7 separate regions of the Homo sapiens genome follow, and all the other regions are linked to region 6. Evidence: promoter capture Hi-C in 16 types of primary human blood cells and fetal thymus (Javierre and others, 2016). All regions are on one chromosome and are shown on one strand. Each heading gives the region's core, a stretch centred on a gene start or on the middle of the fragment in contact. The rest is flanking DNA. Distances are from core to core; before and after follow the strand shown. Region 1 has its middle 9.3 kb from the start of C17orf58. Region 2 overlaps LINC00674 (long intergenic non-protein coding RNA 674). Region 3 overlaps LINC00674 (long intergenic non-protein coding RNA 674). Region 4 has its middle 53 kb from the start of LINC00674. Region 5 has its middle 9.5 kb from the start of C17orf58. Region 6 holds the start of WIPI1 (WD repeat domain, phosphoinositide interacting 1). Region 7 has its middle 5.9 kb from the start of TRR-CCG2-1.

Region 1 (2,700 bases), core at 11-2,510, 450 kb before region 6:
CCACTGCACCTGGCCCCAGTAAGGGGTTGAAAGCTCAGGAATTAATAGTCAGCTTCCTTTTTTGTTCATCCTGTTGTTTGTTCATTTCAGTCTATTGCCTTCTTATAATTTCCTTCTTTACAAGGACTATTTCTCCTTGTTTTGTTTTTGTTTTTTTTTGAGACGGAGTCTCACTCTGTCACCCAGGCTGGAGTGCAATGGCGTGATCTCGGCTCACTGCAACCTCTGCCTCCTGGGTTCAAGCGATTCTCTTGCGTTAGCTGCCCAAGTAGCTAGGATTACAAGTGCAAGCCACCACACCCAGCCAATTTTTTGTATTTTTAGTAGAGATGGGGTTTCACCATGTTGGCCAAAATGGTCTTGATCTCTTGACCTTGTGATCCGCCCTCCTCAGCCTCCTAAAGTGATGGGATTACAGGCGTGAGCCACCGCGCCCAGCCGAGAGTGCCTGTTTCTTAAAATTGTCTTGGCCAGGTACAGTGGCTCACACCGGTAATCCCAGCACTTTGAGAGGCCGAGGCAGGTGGATCACCTGAGGTCAGGAGTTTGAGACCAGCCTGGCCAACATGGTGAAATCCGTCTCTACTCAAAATACAAAAATCAGCCGGGCCTGATGATGGGCACCTGTAGTCCTAGCTACTCCGGGTGCTGAGGCATGAAAATCACTTGAGCCCACGAGGCAGAGGCTGCAGTGAGCCGAAATTGCACTACTGCACTCCAGCCTGGGCAACAGAGCAAGACGCTGTCTCAAAAAAAAAAAAAAAATATATATATATATATATATATATATGTATGTATGTATTTGGCCCGGCACAGTGGCTCACGCCTGTAATCCTAGCACTTTGGGAGGCCAAGGTGGGTGGATCGCTTGCGGCCAGGAGTTTGAGACCAGCTGGGCAACATGATGAAACTCTGTCTCTACTGAAAATACAAAAATTAGCCGGACATCATGGTGCTCGCCTGTAGTCCCAGCTGCTCAGGAGGCTGAGGCAGGAGAATTGCTTGAACTTGGGAGACAGAGGTTGCAGTGAGCTGAGATGGTGCCACTGCACTCCAGCCAGGGCAACAGAGTGAGACCCTGTCTCAAAAAAAAAAAAATAATTGTCTCTAGGATTATTTGTCAACATTATGTGAGGTATGCTCTGCACATTTTTAAGGAGAAAATATTTTTATTTTTATTATAAAACATTCAAAGTTATAGAGAATAGTGTAATCAACAGCTGCACAAATATAACCCAGTTTTATCAGATCTTAGTATTTTCCCATACTTGTTTCTTTCTTTTTTTTTTTTCCAGTGGTTAAAAAATTACAAATATAGTCGGGCGTGGTGGCTCAGGCCTGTAATCCCAGCACTTTGGGAGGCCAAGGCAGGGGGATCACTTGAGGTCAGGAGTTGTAGACCAGCCTGACCATCATGGAGAAACCCCGTCTCTACTAAAAATACAAAATTAGCCAGGCATGCTGGCGCATGCCTATAATCCCAGCTGCTTGGGAGGCTGAGGCAGGAGAATCACTTGAACCCAGGAGGTGGAGGTTGCAGTGAGCCGAGATCATGCCATTGCACTCCAGCCTGGGCGACAGAGCAAGACTCCATCTCGAGAAAAAAAAAATTACAAATATAGTTTGTAGTAACCATCCTCCAAGTAGCCAGCCCCCAGTGTGCCCACTTTTTGGTATTCACATCCCATATAGTCCCCACCTACCCTGTAGCAGGGTTGGTCTGGAAGACTGATAGGATAGGATAATATACACTTCCAAGATTAGATTACAGAAAGACTGAACTCTTTTTTTTTTTAATTTTTTATTTCCATAGGTTATTGAAGAACAGTTGGTGTTTGGTTACATGAGTCAGTTCTTTAGTGGTGATTTGTGAAATTGTGGTGCACCCATCACCCGAGCAGTATACACTGCACCTAATTAATAGCCTTTTATCTGTCAACCCCTTCCCACACTTTCCCTCTGAGTCCCCAAATTCCATTGTGTCATTCTTATGCCTTTGCATCCTCATAGCTTAGCTCCCACTTATGAGTGAGAACGTAGGATGTTTGGTTTTCCATTCCTGACTTACTTCACTTGGAATGATAAGTCTCCAATCCCATCCAGGTTGCTGCAAATGCCATTAATTCATTTCTTTTTATGGCTGAATAGTATTCCATTGTATGCATATATATATATTATATATATATATATATATACACACACACACACACACACACACACACCACGGTTTCTTTATCCACTCATTGATTGATGGGCATTTGGGCTGGTTCCACATTTTTGCAATTGTGAATTGTGCTGCTATAAACATGCATGTCCAAGTATCTTTTTCATATGACTTAGAAAGACTGAACTCTTATCTGGGGTGTGTGTGTTCTTGCTGTCTCTCTTTTAGCTCATTCACTCTGGCTATGTGGGGAGGACATTCAAGCAGTCTATGGAGATGTCCATGTAGCAAGCCAGTGATGTCTTCAGCCAACATTCAGTAAGAAACTGCAGCCTGCCAACAACCAATGAGCGACCTTGCATGCATATTTTCTGCCAGTTGAGTCTTCAGATAAGAGTGCAGCTCCAGGCCACTGCTTGACTGAAACATCCCGAGAGACCTGAGCAGAACCATCCAGCTAAGTCCCTCCCAGATTCCTGGCCCACAGAAAGTGTGATATAATAAATGGTTTTTGGCCGGGCGTGATGGCTCATGCC
Region 2 (2,700 bases), core at 119-2,618, 330 kb before region 6:
CAGGAAGAAAGTAGACTTCTAAGAAGAGTCTGAATAAGCCCCCAACTTCTGGAGTCCCTTTCTCAATTTCTGTTGGCAGTGGGAAATATTAGAAATTACTCTGGGCATTAAAAATAGCTCAGTTTAACCTGGATTGTGGGGTTAAAAAAATAACAGATTGCATTGGCCAAATCTCGACAATTTGAGCATTCAAAAGAGTAACAATAAGCTACAACATAATTAATATATAAAAAAGAATCCATGAAGAATGATATTTAAAAAGAGAGGGAGTTGTTCTTTAATGAAATAATGCCAGCTAATGAATGTAGAAGGAATGACAGAATTTTAAAAAGTGTTACTTTGCAACCACCAATGTAATAAAAATTGATTCAGACAAGGATTGTCATTGATGGACACAGCTGGGTGAGAAGACATTTGAGAACAGGATCTTTACTGATCTCAAAGTACCACCACACAGATATTTTATTAATTACCAAAGGGAAAAATTATTTTTTATTTTTTTATGAGACAAAGTCTCACTCTGTCACCCAGGCTGAAATACAGTGGCAAAATCGTAGCTCACAACAGCCTCGACCCCCACCCTGGGCTCAAGTGAGTCTCCAAATTCAGCCCCCCAAGTATATGGGACTATAGTCTTGTACCACCACACCCAGCTAATTTTTTTTTTTTTTTTTTTTTTTTTTTGTATTTTTAGTAGAGACAGGGTTTCACCTTGTTGCTCAGGCTGGTCTAAAACTCCTGGACTCAAGCGATCTGCCCGTCTCGGCCTTCCAAAGTGCTGGGATTATAAGCATGAGCCACCACACCCAGCAAAATAACTACAATGGAGAGATCTGGAAGATCACCTTAAACAAGTGATCAAACTTAGCATTATGAGCCACCTGCAATCACGAGGCAGGAAGGATATATCACCTATGCAGTATTTTTCCCAAAAATGCTTACCTTGAATCTCATCATGTGGAAACAGACAAATCCAGATTATGGGACAATTTACAAAACAACTATCTTTGACTCTTAAAAAATGCCATGTCATGAAAGATCAAAAAAAGTAGAGGAATGTTTTAGATTAAAGGAAATGAAGACATGACATGCAGTGCCTAATCTTTGATTGGATTCTGTGCTATTCTTTCATCTTTCTGGTATGTTTGAATTTTTTTTGAAATATAAACTTGGGCAAAAGAGATAACCAAGATAATTGATTAATTTATTGTTATGGCTCATTGGGGGCAGTTTCAGAGAAATAAAAACAATCTTTGTAACTGGAGTAAATTCTCAAGGTTAATCTTAAGCAATATAGCATGGTCATTAAGAATACAGATTCCACAGCCAGACTAGGCTTAAATCCCAGCTCTGTGAATAATGTGAATTTGGGCACATTGATTAATCTCTGTTCCTTGGCCTTGTCATTATAATAGTACCTACCTCTAATGAGTTTTGAGGATTAGATGAATCAGTACCTGAAAAATGCCTGACACACAGTGAGTGCTCAATAAATGTTAACTACTGTAATTATTACATTACAGAGGTTGTGGGGGGGCCTTTTCTGAGTCCTCCAAAAGGATGACTTTATTAGGGCCACATTAAGACTGTGGAAACAGAAGAGTATTCAACAGATAAATGAAGTCTATGAGTTGGGGGTACAATTTATGGAGTTTTAGATTAAAACTGCATCCAATAAGTTGGTCTGACACATCTTTCAAACCTATAGAGGAATAATCACAAGTGACTAGTATTCCTTTGGGTCCAATAGAGGTCTCTGATCTTCATACAGATTGAATGTACCCAGAACCGTAACCTAGCATTTTACTTATATAGCAACCTTAACTCTGACACAAAAGTGTTTCTTTTGTTTTGAGGCCAAGTCTCACTCTGTTACACAGGCTGAGTGCAGTGGTGCAATCTCACTTCACTGCAGCCTCTGCCTCCTGGGCTCAAATGATCCTCCCACCTCAGCCTCCTGAGTAGCTAGAACTACAGGTGAGTGCCACCATGCCTGGCTCATTTTTGTATTTTTTGTAGAGATGGGGTTTCACCATGTTGCCCAGGCTGGTCTCAAACTCCTGAGCTCAAGCAACCCTCTCTCCTTGGCCTCCCAAAGTGCTGGGATTACAGGCATGAGCCTGAAGTTTAATTGTTATTCTTTTCCTGCCCCCGACTTTTGATTTTAAACATTTTCTTTTTTTCCTTTAAGCCTTAGGATGGCTAGGAAGCATTTTCAGATGGTATAATGAACACCTGTATAACTTTCATCTGGAATCAACAGTTGCTAATACTTTGCCACATTTGCTTTCCATGTGTGTATGTCTATACATTTTCTGGACAAACCATTTGAGAGTCAGTTGCAGACAAAATGACCCTTTGCCATTAAAGACTTCAGTGTGCAGCCCCTAAGAAGCAAGGCATTCTCCTGCATAACCAGAGGACTATCATCACCCAATGGAACTTCATATTATCATTGTCTACTATGCAGCCCATATACACATTTTCACAATTGTCCCAATCATAACATGGCTTAAAAAATTCAGAATCCAATCCAACATCAGACATTGCATTTAGCGTTCATGATTTTTTTTTTTTTTTTTGTAGAAAGACCTTTAATACTTCTGTTTACAAAATTCAGGCATACATTTCAGTTTGCCCTGAACCGTGCCCAAGGCTGTGTGCTCATCTCTGCCAGGATGTCTGTGCCCTCATGTACTG
Region 3 (2,700 bases), core at 26-2,525, 340 kb before region 6:
AGGCAGGCAGATCACTTGAGGTCAGGAGTTCGAGACCAGCCTGGCCAACATGGCGAAACCCCGTCTCTACTAAAAATACAAAAGTTAGCTGGGCATGCTGGCGGGCGCCTGTAATCCCAGCTACTCAGGAGGCTGAGGCAAGAGAATCCCTTGAATCCAGGAGGCGGAAGTTGGAGTGAGCCCAGATGGTGCCACTGCACTCCAGCCTGGGTGACAGAATGAGACTCTGTCTCAAAACAAACAAAAAAATCAGTTGACAATATACATATAATTCTATTTCTGGACTGTCTTCTGTTTTCTTTATCTATGATTCTACCCCTTTAAGTTTATTCTTTTTAACACCGTGCTGTCTTGATTACTATAGCTTTAAAATAAAGCAGCTTTCAAACAAATTGAGTCTTTGATTTAGAATCTTGTAATGCTTTGGAGCCATTGTTTAATTTGTTCAGCCAATAAGTATTTATCATTTTTGATATGTGACAGATATTATTTTTATTATGTGGTACCATGAATGGAGATATAAGAAATCAGAAAAAGCCTAGATGGGGTCCTGTAGTTTTCCTTTCAGAATTTCTATTATGAACCTTACATTTTTAAATTAATTAATCTTTTTCATCTCTTACTATGTGATGAAAGAGGATTATGACAACCAGGACTTAACAAAGTTTGCTTGTTTACCAGCTGTCAGTCCCCTCAAATCATTTTTGGAAAAAGGTGGGATATAAAGAATAAACATATCTAAAATGTGACCATAGAAAAGAAAGGAGGTGATTGGTGTGTTAAGTATGGGTTGGATTATGAGTATTTATCGTTTTTGCTTGTATTATTTTTGTGACAGGGTCTCTGTCACCCAGGCTGCAGTGCAATGGCACAATCAGAGCTCACTGTGATCTTGAACTGGGCTCAAGTGATCCTCCCACCTCAGCCTTCTGAATAGCTGGGTCTACAAACATGCACTACCATGCTCAGCTAATTTTTAAATTTTTTTTATTTTTCGTAGAGATGGGGCCTCACTGTGTTGCCCAGGCTGGTCTCGAACTCCTGGCCTCAAGTGATCCCCTGCCTTGGCCTTCCATAGTGCTGGGATTATAGGCCTGAGACATTGCTGTGCCTGGCTTGCTTTTGCTTGCCTTATTTTATGTGTATATTTTTTCTAAAAGGCAAAAGAAAGGAAGAAACTTAATTTTATTAGAATGTAAGCATATATATATTCAAAAAATATATACACATATATACAAATATATGTGTATACACATACATATTTGTATACACATATACAAATATGTATGTGTATATATTTTTTGAGATAGAGCCTTGCTCTGTTGCCCAGGCTGGAGTGCAGTGGCGTGATCTCAGCTCACTGCAACCTCCGTCTCCTGGGTTCAAGCGATTCTCCTGCCTCACCCTCCTGAGTAGGTGGGATTACAGGCACCCACTACTACGCCCAGCTAATTTTTGTATTTTTAGTATACATGGGGTTTTACCATGTCTGCCAGGATGGTCTCGATCTCTTGACCTCGTGATCCACCCGCCTCGGCCTCCCAAAGTGCTGGGATTACAGGTGTGAGCCACTGCACCTGGCCTCTTTATTTTTTTAAAAGAGACAAGGTCTTGCTCTGTCACTCAGGCTGGAGTGCAGTGGCATGATCATAGCTCACTGTAGCCTTGAACTCTTGGGCTCAAGTAGTCCTCCCACACCTTAGCCTACCAAGTAGCTAGGACTATAGGCGCCTGCCACCATGCCCAGCTATTTAAGAAAAAACTTTTTTGCACAGATAGAGTTTCACCGTGTTGCCCAGGCTGGTCTAGAATTCCTGGCCTCAGGTGATCCTCCCACCTGAGGATTACAGGTGTGATCTACTGCACCTGGCCAAATTTCACCTTATTTTGACTTGAGTTTTTTGAGCGGATTGGCAGGGAGCAATTAAGTAATAGGCTAACAGGACCTAATAGTAATAGTGTGTTAAAAATTATTTTTTTCAGGAATCATATTGACAGGTCATGAAAATGAGACCAAAAGATCTCTGGAAGCGATTAATGATAAAATTTCATGGAGAAGAAGGCCTTGACTACGGAGGGGTTGCCAGGTAAGGACTTGCTTGCCAGCTTATGACATACGCATCTTTGTACTTACCAATTTAAGATATTTCCTGCGGTATAACTTTCTCATCGACATTTATTTTTTGGGTATTCTATTCCCTAATGTTTGTATTACTGAGGATATCCTAATAGATATATTCATAATGAGGTTAGGATAGTACTGCTACTGGACAAGTATTTTAGAACTCCCCAATAGATCATCTGAGTCCAATGAGACTGCAGGCCCTGTGTTTTCTCCATCTCTCCTTCAGCATGTTATTGCCTCTGCTTTACATTGTCAGGAACAGTTTTGAGATTTAAACGATATATGACGAACTGAATACTGGTTCTCTTTGCTTCCATTTGTTATGCCTTTTTTCCTTGTTAAATGAATGTGTATGCATGCATGTGTGTATACACATGTACATATCATGATGGTCCTCAGAATGTTTCAGTACAGAAGGTATAATGCTTCTGCTACATTTGTAACTCACAGGTCAAGTCAAATTGATTTCTTTTTCTTTTCTTTTTTTTTGGAGACAGGGTCTCCCTCTGTCACCCAGGCTGGAGTGTAGTGGCGCGATCTCGGGTCACTGCAACCTCCCCAAGCTGGGCTCAAGA
Region 4 (2,700 bases), core at 151-2,650, 300 kb before region 6:
CATGTCAAATAATTTCCTGAAATGCGACTGTAACTAGAACCCAGCTGACTTCCCCCACAGCCATTCTTACCTATTGTATTACTGTCTGGCACAATTACCAGCATGTAAACTCCAAGAAGGTGCTTCATCTTCTTCCAGTGCCTGGCATAGGCATAGCGTGCACAGTGATGGTTTTAAAATTGAAGGGGGGCCAGGTGCAGTGGCTCACACCCATAATCCCAGAACTTTGGGAGGCTGAGGTAGGCGGATCACCGAGGTCAGAAGTTCAAGAACAGCCTGACCAACATGGTGAAACTCTGTCTCTACTAAAAATACAAAATTAGCCGGGTGTGGTAGCGCATGCCTATAATCCCAGCTGCTCGGGAGGCTGAGGCAGGAGGATCACTTGAACCTGGGAGGTGGAGGTTGCAGTGAGCCGAGATCGCGACATTGCACTCCAGCCTGGGCAACAAGAGTGAAACTCTGCCTCAATAAAATAAAATAAAATAAAATAAAATTGAAGGGATTCCAAGATTCGCCTCATTTAGGGATAGATCTATTGTTATAATCAGATTTCTGAAATCAGTGCTGACTTCCTCTCACATTTCACGGGAAGCTAGACTTCTTAAAGCTTGAAGTTTTCTTGGTGGGTTTTATTTAAATTGAATTAAAATAATTATTTTACAGGGAAAAACTTCAAAACACTTTGCAACTTTGGTGTAAAAGTTAAATAAAACACTCTAGCCCCAAATGAAGTTCTCACTGAAATGAAACTTTTGCCCCTTTTTTTTTTTAAATTCCATATATAGTAAATAATGACTGTTTTGAGATTTAGAAACTTAATCCCTATTTAAGAGCTTTCATATACAGTCATGAGTTGCTTGCCATCATAGCGTATACTTACACAAACTTAGGTGGTATAGCCTACAGCACACCTAAGCTATTTTTAGTAGAGACAGGGTTTCACCACGTTGGCCAGGCTAGTCTTGAACTCCTGACCTCGTGATCCACCCGTCTTGGCCTCCCAAAGTGCTGGGATTACAGGCGTGAGCCATGGCATCTGGCCTGTTTGTTTGTTTTTTGAGATGGAGTTTCGCTCTTGTTGGCCAGGATTCAGTGCAATGGCATGATGTTGGCTCACAGCAACCTTCGCCTCCCAGTTCAAGTGATTCTCTTGCCTCAGCCTCCCGAGTAGCGGGGATTACAGGCATGCGCCACCATTTCTCCATGTTGGTCAGGCTGGTCTTGAACTCCTGACCTCAGGTGATCCGCCGGCCTCGGCCTCCCAAAGCACTGGCATTACAGGTGTGAGCCACCACGCCTGGCTCTGTTACCCTTGAGTTTTTATCTCCACATACTTGAATTAAGCCGTGTAGTTCTTCTTCCCATCTGACATCTACAATCTCTTCACTGGGTCTGTACTCCACAGCTATTTTACCACTTTCTGAAATAAAGTTAGCAAGGAGCAATTCAGAATCTTTTTCATTCTAAAACTTCCTGCATATAATGGTAGCACCCCACAGTGAGACATTCTTTTGGTTTCTAAAAGCAGAAAATAAGAGCATTTTCCTGGAAGTTTCCTCATCTCATCACATACTTCCCTGTCCCTTTCCCTTTCCCCCTTCCTTCCCCTCCCTTCCCCTCCCCTCCCCTCCCTCCCTTTCTTCTTTTTCAGGGTCTCACTCTGTCACCCAGGCTGGAGTACAGTGGCACTGTCATAGCTCACTGCAGCCTGGAATTCCTGGGCTCAAGTGATCTTCCTGCCTCAGCCTCCAGAGTAGCAGGGACTACACCACTGTGCCCGGCTAATTCTCTTTTTTAGAGACATGGTCCTGCTTTGTTATTTCAGGCTGTCTCGAACTCCTGACTTGAAGTGTCCTTCTGTCTTGGCCTCCCAAAGTGCTGAGATTTGAGGTGTGAGTCACCATGTCCGGTCTCACACCTCAGTTTTTAACATATGTATGAAATATCAACTGTGTTTGGTTCAAAGGACTTTATGATCTTACAGATAGGAACTAAGGAATAATAACATAAGAAATAAAAAATTTGGAAACAAAAATGTTCAATCACAATATTAAATAGTAAGGCATCAGGTGGGGGGGTCGAAGTTCAAATCCAAAATGGAGACCACTGGGCTAGTAGACACTTCACATTAGAAGCACGGCTAGGTGTCTACTCCCTGAGAACCAAAATTCCACCAGATACAATGAGCAAAGCTTCAGAGAGAGAGAACACTTGAACATTTTATTGGCAGAAAATATCCCGCATACTCTATAGACAATACAACTTCCTTCAAGGCAAATTAGAGATATAAGGCTTTTGGTCTAAGAAGTTTTGAGTGTGTGCAAGGGATACCTTTGTATACTAGGGAGAGGTAAACAACCCACACATTTAGCTTGGTTATTAAAGGTTGTTACTCAGACTTGACAGTTGATGACCAAGGAAGTAAGACTTTCACTAGAAGGGCGGCCCAGGTTGGAAAGCCGAGAGCAATCAGGGCCACCTCTTACAAGCAAATAAGGTCTGTGGTAACTTAATTAGGATCTCTGTCTCTAAGTCTTCAGGGCTGTGAAGCAGAAGAGCAACTCTGTTCAGGGACTCTTTGCTAAACATCGGGCTTCCTCTGGGCACAGCCTATAACATTTGCACCACTGTAGAACTGAACAGGGAATACAAGCAATGGCATTCAATAGCATGACCACTTCCAAGGCTCACAGCAAA
Region 5 (2,700 bases), core at 9-2,508, 470 kb before region 6:
GCCTAGAGTGTTATTTAGAGACACTAAGATTTGCTGTTGTTTGTAATCTACCTTCCTAGGATCTGCAAATAAAAGTTACTTCCCTATTTCTGTTAATTCCTTTAGGCAAACTCTCTGCTGCTTTATGTTAAAGAGCCAACCTGGTGGCCTTTCAGATCTCTGCACACTTAGACAAAGCTACATGGTTATTACAGCTTTCGCTCTTCATGATTGAAGCTATTACCGTAGGTCTCAGACTTCTTGTCCTTAATGTGAGAATGGTGATATTTCATGGATAAAGTAATGAAGTACTTGAGGAGGTGGGGGTAAGAACCAGCTGAGAAGTATTTTTAATAATTTGAAACATTCTGAGGTACTTCTGGATACTTGGAGCGAGATACTAGAAGATTTTCTCAGAAGATCATACCGCTTGATCCAATTTGAACCAAATTCAACTAAAGAAATTAGCTATATTTTCAACTAAAATTAGCTATATTTTTAAAATGTTAATGTCCTGCTTTATCTAATTTATTTATTGCTTGCTCAAATATTTCCTGAAATTGAGGTGATGCATTATAGGTGGCAGGTCAGTTTTTATGAGTTTGTTTCTATGTGTGAATGGTCAGCCTTAAAAATGATTTTATCCGGGCGCGGTGGCTTATGCCTGTGATCCCAGCACTTTGGGAGGCCGAGGCGGGCGGATCACCTGAGGTCAGGAGTCCGAGACCAGCCTGGCCAACATGGTGAAAACCCGTCTCTACTAAAAATACAAAAATTAGCAGGCTGTGGTGGCACATGCCTGTAATCCCACTACTCGGGAGGCTGAGGCAGGAAAATTGCTTGAGCCCGGGAGGCGGAGGTTGCAGTGAGCCAAGATGGTGCCACCGCACTCCAGCCTGGCCGATAGAGCGAGATTCTGTCTAAAAAAAAAAAAAAAATTCAAGAGAAATACTAACAGTGCCAAATGATGCTTTCTTTACAAGGCAGTTGTGAAGAGCTATGGGTCGGGCGTGGTGGCTCACGCCTGTAATCCCAGCACTTTGAGAGGCCAAGGCAGGTGGCTCACAAGGTCGGGAGTTCGAGACCAGCCTGGCCAATGTGGCAAAACCCTGTGTCTACTAAAAATACAAAAAGTAGCCGGGCCTGGTGGTGGGTGCCTGTAATCCCAGCTACTTGGGAGGCTGAGGCAGGAGAATCGCTTAAACCCAGGAGGTGGAGGTTGCAGGGAGCCAAGATTGTGCCACTGCACTCCAGCCTGGGTGACAAGAGCAAGACTCAGTCTCACATAAATAAATAAACAAACAAACAGTGTATGTGTTTTATAGACGTTTTCCTACCCAAAGAAAAACAAGTGCTTGGCTGGGCGCGGTGGCTCACACCTGTAATCCCAGCACTTCGGGAGGCTGAGGCGGGCGGATTGTGAGGTCAGGAGATTGAGACCATCCTGGCTAACACGGTGAAACCCCGTCTCTACTAAGCATACAAAAAAAATTAGCCGGGCGTGATGGCGGGCGCCTGTAGTCCCAGCTACTCGGGAGGCTGAGGCAGGAGAATGGCGTGAACCCGGGAGGCGGAGCTTGCAGTGAGCTGAGATTGTGCCACTGCACTCCGCAGTGCGAGACTCCGTCTCAAAAAAAAAAAAGAAAAGAAAAAAAAGAAAAACAAGTACTTTTTTCCCTTGAATTGTAAAATAATAGCTTCATTTGAAGGAGGGATGCTATTGAATTACTACTGAAGGCAAGAGAGTATTCCATTTAGGGACTATTAATGTGTGCACATAGGCACAAACCCATTTGCTAAGAAAAATCTATCAATGGGACAAGATTATAAGAAACTATAGTGCATTTGCTCATTAAAATTTTCCATCAAATTGGCAGGGCGCAGTGGCTAATGCCTGTAATCCCAGCACTTTGGGAGGCTGAAGTGAGTGATTCACTTGGGGCCACAAGCTCAAGACCAACCTGGGCAACACGGCCAAACCCCGTCTCTACTAAAAGTACAAAAGGCCAGGCATGGTGGCTCTCAACTGTAATCCTAACACTTTGGGAGGCCGAGGCAGGTGAATCACTTGAGATCAGGAGTTCTAGACCAGCCTGGCCAACATGGTGAAACCCCATCTCTACTAAAAATACAAAAATTAACCGGGCGTGGTGATGGGCGCCTGTAATCCCATCTACTCGGTAGGCTGAGGCAGGAGAATCGCTTGAACCCGCGAGGCAGAGGTTGCAGTGAGCCGGGATCACGCCACTGCACTCCAGCCTGGGTGACAGAGTGAGATGCCATCTCAAAAAAAGGACAAAAGTTAGCCGGGCATTGAGGCCGGGCGCGGTGGCTCACGCATGTAATCCCAACACTTTGGGAGGCCGAGGTGGGCGGATCACGAGGTCAGGAGATCGAGACCATCTTGGCTAACACAGTGAAACCCCGTCTCTACTAAAAATACAAAAAAATTGGCCAGGCGTGGTCACCCAGGCTGGAGCGCAGTGGCGAGATCTTGGCTCACTGCAAGTTGCAAGCTCCGCCTCCCAGGTTCATGACATTCTCCTGCCTCAGCCTCCCGAGTAGCTGGGACTACAGGCGCCCGCCACCACGCCAGGCTAATTTTTTGTGTTTTTAGTAGAGACGGGGTTTCACCATGTTGGCCAGGATGGTCTCGATCTCCTGACCTAGTGATCTGCCCGCCTCGGCCTCCCAAAGTGCTGGGATTACAGGCGTGAGCCA
Region 6 (2,700 bases), core at 90-2,589:
AGAAAAACTTGAAAGTCACTCAAATAACCAAGCTGTAGAGCTACTCGATTACATGATTACACATATGGGTTTTTCAAACAAAGGCATATTGTTCAGCACCGGGTGTTTTTAAACAGAAACATAAAGGGAATGGAAGCCAGGGTGGCTAATGGTACATAATGGCCTTAATTACACCACTGAAGGATCAATATTAGCGTAGCTCAGTCACCAGCAGCCAAGGCACAGAAACTGGTACAGCAGGAAGTGGGAAACTGGGAATCGGTCATCCCCGCCTGATGCTCAGGGTGCACATTCCAAAAAGATGATTCCATATGGTCCCCAGGGCTCGCTTCCATGAAAATAGGGAAAGAAACAGGCGTTTGCCTGTAAGTCACAGAATCCTGCAGATGCCTGAAACACACTTCAGCCCAGCTCCCTCTCAAAGCCCAAATGTGAACATCGAAGTAAAACATTAAAAATCCACTCAAAAACAACAGGGTGGAGCTCCTGTTTCCTGGAGAGAAAGCAGTCTGCGCCCGGGAAAAGAGTCTTGGACTCCGAGAAGGAGATCCTGCCTGGCTGGGTGGGCGATGTGAAAACAGCCAAAGAAATCCAAAGGTTTCTTCCATCCAGAGCGGGCAGGCACGATGCCCTGCGTCGGGGATGGGACAGGGGCTGGCCTGGCCGCAGGGATAGGCTGCCTCTTTGTCCGAGGCCCTGCCCAGATGCCACGTTGAGATGCTCAAGGACAAATGGGAAAGTTTTTCCTGTACTCTCATCTTCCTGGGCCCCAACTACAGAGTCCTGGGTCAACTTGCAACTTCCTCTCCTTTCTCATCTCTTTCTTTTGGCCACTGTCTCTCTTCCCCAGACACCCACTTTGGTCACTGGCTTTCCCACCGCCCTGCTCCCCCCATATTCCGTGGCCCCCGCAGCCCCACCACTCCCTTTGCGAACTCCCTGCTTTCACCCTTGGCCCAACCTTGTCGCTCTGGGAGGACACTGGGAGTGGGGTGGGGTGGGGGGTGCGGCAAACCCCACTGAAGGGGTACGGGGATAACAAGATCCCAATGCGTCCGAAGCAGACACCGGCCCTCCCGCCGAGGCCGCCTCGAGGCGGAAGCCACAAGCTGCTCTCAGGACGACACCCCTGGGTCCTGACACTCTGTCCCCCACCTCCCTGGCAGGGGCCGAGTCGCAGCTTACGTGCAGTCCTGGTTGAAAGAGAAGCAGCTGAGCGCCGACTCAACCCCGCCCGGGGGAGCGTCCGCGGCCTCGGCCTCCATCGGGGGCTCGGCCCGGGAAGCCGCAGCTCGGAGCCGGCGACAGCCACCTCAGCAGCCCGCCCGCGCCGGCTCCACGGGCCGGGTCGCCGGTCCTGCCCCGCCCCTACCCCGCCCCGTCCCCACCCCGCCCCTACCCCGCCCCGTCCCCACCCCGCCCCTACCCCGCCCCGTCCCCGCCGCGTCCCCGGCTTCGCCCCGCCCCTTCTCGCCCCTCCAGCTGGTCCCGAGGACCAGAGCACCTGATAGGGCGGGGCCCCTGCCTCCGGCCACCATTGGCCACGAGCCCAAGCCACGGCTGGCGGGCACCGCCCCCCTTGGCCAATCCGTGGCAGCTGTGGGCGGACCCGCCCGGCTGGCGACCCGCCCCTGGCTTCGTAACGCGGCTCTCCATTGGACAAAGGCGCGTGACGCAAAGGCAGCAGGCCCACGTGGCGGTGTTTTCATTGCCGGAGCCGCCCAGCTGGGAGGGAGAGGGAAGAAGGAATGCGGCTGGGGCCAGATCTGCTGGTTTCAGTCCGGCAACTGCGTCGGGGCCGCCGCAAGGGTGACAGGAGGACGCGCTAGTTCCCACCCCGCCCAGACCCCTTGCCATGTGTAACTCTGCCTATTAAACTTACAGAGTTTAGCAGAGAGCGTTAGACTCCAAAGCCCCACCCTTTTGTCGAGTCCTCAAGCCGCATTGAGAGAAGCTCCTGAAATGGGGCTGCCTCAGCCAGAGAGATAGCAAGTTATCTTATCCATTGCCGAGCGGTTGAGAACCCTCACTACTTGCCAAGCGCGCCGTACTATGTATGTCATCTTGAATTCTTATAAAACTTGTGTGGAAAATACGATTGTGCTCAATATACAGAAGAGGCAACTGAAGCTCCAAAGCTAAACAATTTGTCTAAAGTAACAGTAAATGGTAGAATGTCTGCATGTCTGCTTTCAAGACCTGTGCACTAAATAACTGCTAAACAGTAATTTGCAAAAACAACGTAGCACCTAGCATGCGAGATTCTAGGTTTTCTAACCAGGACAGAAATGACTGCAGCATTTGACGGAGCTGGAAGGTGGGGGGAAGCACCTTTGATCTGAAAAGTTACAAAAATGGCACAAAGTATCTAAACAAGACCTATCCGATCCGCAGCTGAAAAAAATGAAAGTGTGTGTAGGGCAGTGTAGTTTATGAAAGGGGTAACGTCTTGAAGATATAGCACAATTCAAAACTCACGTAATTCGAGATAAACCTTAACAAAGAATCTCTTTTTAAAAGCTGAGTACTGTACATGTTCCCATGCGGAATTACTGTCAATACGGTTTATGAAGCAGGAGCTCTGCCAGCTTTGGATTGTATAACTGCTGATGGATTTTTAATTCATTTTTTCAAATTTTGAGATGATATTTTAGTTATTGTTATATGACAGTCTCTCAAATCAGCATAATTCAAATTTAT
Region 7 (2,700 bases), core at 15-2,514, 430 kb before region 6:
TTACAGGTGTGAGCCACCGCACCCGGCCTATATTTTGTATTTTCAGTAGAGACGGGGTTTCACTGTTTTGGCCAGGCTGGTCTCAAACTCAAACTCCTGACCTCAAGTGATCTATCTGCCTCGGCCTCCCAAAGTGCTGGGATTACAGGTGTGAGCCACCATGCCCGATCTGCTTGTTTTTTTGAGACTGGTTCTCACTCTGTTGCCCAGGCTGGAGTGCAGTGATGCAATCACGTCTTACTGCAGCTTCCAACTCCCAGGCTCAAATGATCCTTCCGCCTCAGCCTCCCAAGTAGCTGGGATGACAGGCGTGCACCACCATGCCTGGCTAATTTTTATATTTTTTGTAGAGACCAGGTTTCACCATGTTGCCCAGGCTGGTCTCAAACTCCTGGACTCAAGCAATCTGCCCACCTCAGCCTCCCAGACTGCTGGGATTCTAGGCATGAGCCACCATGCCCAGCCTTCTTTTCTTTTCTTTCTTTCTTTTTTTTTTTTTTGAGACAGTCTTGCTCTATTACCCAGGCAGGAGTGCAGTGGCTCAATCTCAGCTCACTGCAACTTCTGCTTCCCAAGTTCAAGTGATTCTCCTGAATCACATCATGGCTAGCTAATTTTTGTATTTTTAGTAGAGACAGAGTTTTGCCATCTCTACTGGAGTTGGCCAGGCTGGTCTCGAACTCCTGACCTCAGGTGATCCACCGGCTTTGGCCTCCCAAAGCGCTGGGATGACAGGCACGACCCCCACGCCCGGTCTGGACTTTTGTTATTATTATTATTTTTTTTAGAGACAGGGTCTTGCTCAGTCACCCAGGCTGGAGTGCAGTGGCTCAATCATAGCTCACTGCAGCCCCAAACTCCTGGGTTCAAGCAATTGTCCTGCCACAGCATCCCAAGTACCTGATACTACAGGTGCACACCACCACACCTGGATAATTTTTTTTTTTTTTTGTAGAAAAAGGGGGTCTCCCTCTGTTGGTTACACAAACCCCTGGCTTCAAGTGATCCTCCTACCTCAACCTACCAAAGTGCAGGGATTACATGCATGAGCCACGGCACCCAGCCTTCTTATTTGAGGTGGCAAATTCCTTTACTCATAAGCCAACTTAGGATTGGGTCTTCTGCCTCTTGCAACCAAAAGAGTCATAAACAATACACTCAGGAATTTGTGAGAGGAAGATAGGATTGACAACAAAGGTGGTTTGGAGAAGGGGTAGATGTATGGATCTTTTGGAATGAACTTAGAAGGTGTGGATTTGAGTTATATGGATGTTCACCCAAAGGCCTCCACTGTGGAATAGGCTATTAATATTCAGGTGGCCATGATGGCCTGCTCTGTAGATGTCCATCATCCTCCTTCCCCTGCCAGGCTAGTGCTTGCTTAATGGGATCATGAACCACATGGCCAAGGCAGCAGAGACAGAGGCTATGCATACGCTCAGTATCATTCACTTCCTACTACTGAGTCTGGTCTGGCTACTATTTCTGCCGGGGGCCCAACCAGCCCTGATGTTGGCTTCACACCCTGAAGGGACCATTCAATTACCTGGTGATCATGACAATAACATTGGACCCTTTCCATAATAGATCAGGAGGAAGAGACATTTTATCTGGATTGGGCCATATTTACTTTCCAATGTGTCACTCTGCTGCCAGCACCACCATCCATTCACTTTCTTTTTTTTTTGAGACGGAGTCTTGCCCTGTCGCCCAGGCTGGCGTACAGTGGCATGATCTCGGCTCAGTGCAACCTGCGCCTTCCAGGTTCAAGCGATTCTCCTCCCCCAGCCTCCCGAGTAGCTGGGATTACAGTCGCGTGCCACTACGCCCAGCTAAATTTTTGTATCTTTAGTAGAAATGGGGCCACCATGTTGACCAGCCTGGTCTCAAACTCCTGATCTCATGATCCGCCCACCTCGGCCTCCCAAAGTGCTGGGATTACAGACATGAGCCACCGCGCCCGGCCCCTCCTTTCACTTTGCAAGTCTTTTATGCTGTCATGGATTCCCAAAGAGACAACACTGCTCCAACCAAGAAACTCACCTCACAGTGAAATTATGGAATTGCAAATCAAAATAATGAGATACCGCTACACATCTATTGTAATGGCTAAAATGCAAAACACTGACAACACCAAATTCTGGTGAGGATATGGAACAAGAGGAACTCTCATTCATTGCTAGTGGGAATGCAGAATGGTACAGCAACTTCAAAAGATAGTTTGGCAGTTTCTTACAAAGGTAAACATAGTCTTACCATACCATCCAGCAATCGCAATCCATGGTATTTATCCAAGTGAGTTGAAAACGTATGTCTACACAAAAATCTCCACCTGCACACAACTGTTTATAGCAGCTTTATTCGTAATTGCCAGAATTTGAACCAACCAAGATGTGCTTCCATAGGTGAATGGATAAACAAACTGTGGTACATCCATATAATGGAATTTCTTTTTCAGATTTTTTTTCTTTTCTTTCCTTTTTTTTTTTGAGACAGGGTCTTGCTTTGTTGCCCAGACTGGAGTGCAGTGGCGTGATCACTGCTAACCTCAAACTCCTGGGCTCCAGTGATCCTCTGCCTCAATCTCCCAGGTAGCTGTGTACAGGAATGCACCATCATGCCCAGCTAATATATTTTTTATTTTTTGTAGAGATGGCGTCTTGTCATTTTGCCCAGGCTAGTCTCGAAACTCCTGGGCTC

The links. Contacts are between HindIII fragments. The CHiCAGO score rates a contact against its expected background, and 5 or more counts as called.
Region 1: a contact is called between a fragment that was not itself captured here and the fragment with the promoter of WIPI1 in region 6, in 9 of 17 cell types (naive CD8 T cells, non-activated CD4 T cells, total CD4 T cells and 6 more). The highest score is 8.2, in naive CD8 T cells.
Region 2: a contact is called between a fragment that was not itself captured here and the fragment with the promoter of WIPI1 in region 6, in 1 of 17 cell types (naive CD8 T cells). The highest score is 5.1, in naive CD8 T cells.
Region 3: a contact is called between a fragment that was not itself captured here and the fragment with the promoter of WIPI1 in region 6, in 5 of 17 cell types (naive CD8 T cells, activated CD4 T cells, naive CD4 T cells and 2 more). The highest score is 7.3, in naive CD8 T cells.
Region 4: a contact is called between a fragment that was not itself captured here and the fragment with the promoter of WIPI1 in region 6, in 7 of 17 cell types (total CD8 T cells, naive CD4 T cells, non-activated CD4 T cells and 4 more). The highest score is 9.4, in total CD8 T cells.
Region 5: a contact is called between a fragment that was not itself captured here and the fragment with the promoter of WIPI1 in region 6, in 9 of 17 cell types (total B cells, naive CD4 T cells, non-activated CD4 T cells and 6 more). The highest score is 12.3, in total B cells.
Region 7: a contact is called between a fragment that was not itself captured here and the fragment with the promoter of WIPI1 in region 6, in 9 of 17 cell types (naive CD4 T cells, non-activated CD4 T cells, naive CD8 T cells and 6 more). The highest score is 13.0, in naive CD4 T cells.

Annotation. Positions count from the first base shown.
Region 1 is chr17:68,004,417-68,007,116 of GRCh38, forward strand. No RefSeq gene overlaps it. Among named protein-coding and RNA genes, the nearest start is that of C17orf58, 9.3 kb to the left of the region's middle. The HindIII fragment of the contact is 4,873 bases long and covers 1-2,700 here.
Region 2 is chr17:68,130,635-68,133,334 of GRCh38, forward strand. LINC00674 (long intergenic non-protein coding RNA 674) reads left to right here. Exons shown (of 6, transcript NR_027418.1): 6 at 1-2,700. It also overlaps the pseudogene LRRC37A16P and the pseudogene SH3GL1P3. Among named protein-coding and RNA genes, the nearest start is that of LINC00674, 30 kb to the left of the region's middle. The HindIII fragment of the contact is 5,734 bases long and covers 1-2,700 here.
Region 3 is chr17:68,112,439-68,115,138 of GRCh38, forward strand. LINC00674 (long intergenic non-protein coding RNA 674) reads left to right here. Exons shown (of 6, transcript NR_027418.1): 4 at 1,984-2,087. Among named protein-coding and RNA genes, the nearest start is that of LINC00674, 12 kb to the left of the region's middle. The HindIII fragment of the contact is 8,635 bases long and covers 1-2,700 here.
Region 4 is chr17:68,153,220-68,155,919 of GRCh38, forward strand. No RefSeq gene overlaps it. Among named protein-coding and RNA genes, the nearest start is that of LINC00674, 53 kb to the left of the region's middle. RefSeq lists enhancers at 687-1,188, 1,189-1,688. The HindIII fragment of the contact is 1,585 bases long and covers 609-2,193 here.
Region 5 is chr17:67,985,642-67,988,341 of GRCh38, forward strand. No RefSeq gene overlaps it. Among named protein-coding and RNA genes, the nearest start is that of C17orf58, 9.5 kb to the right of the region's middle. The HindIII fragment of the contact is 3,310 bases long and covers 1-2,700 here.
Region 6 is chr17:68,456,157-68,458,856 of GRCh38, forward strand. WIPI1 (WD repeat domain, phosphoinositide interacting 1) reads right to left here and starts at 1,340. Exons shown (of 13, transcript NM_017983.7): 1 at 1,186-1,340. The coding sequence starts at 1,265. It also overlaps a transcript of PRKAR1A not described here. RefSeq lists silencers at 1,080-1,759, 1,496-1,782. The HindIII fragment of the contact is 11,803 bases long and covers 1-2,700 here.
Region 7 is chr17:68,024,532-68,027,231 of GRCh38, forward strand. No RefSeq gene overlaps it. Among named protein-coding and RNA genes, the nearest start is that of TRR-CCG2-1, 5.9 kb to the left of the region's middle. The HindIII fragment of the contact is 5,801 bases long and covers 1-2,700 here.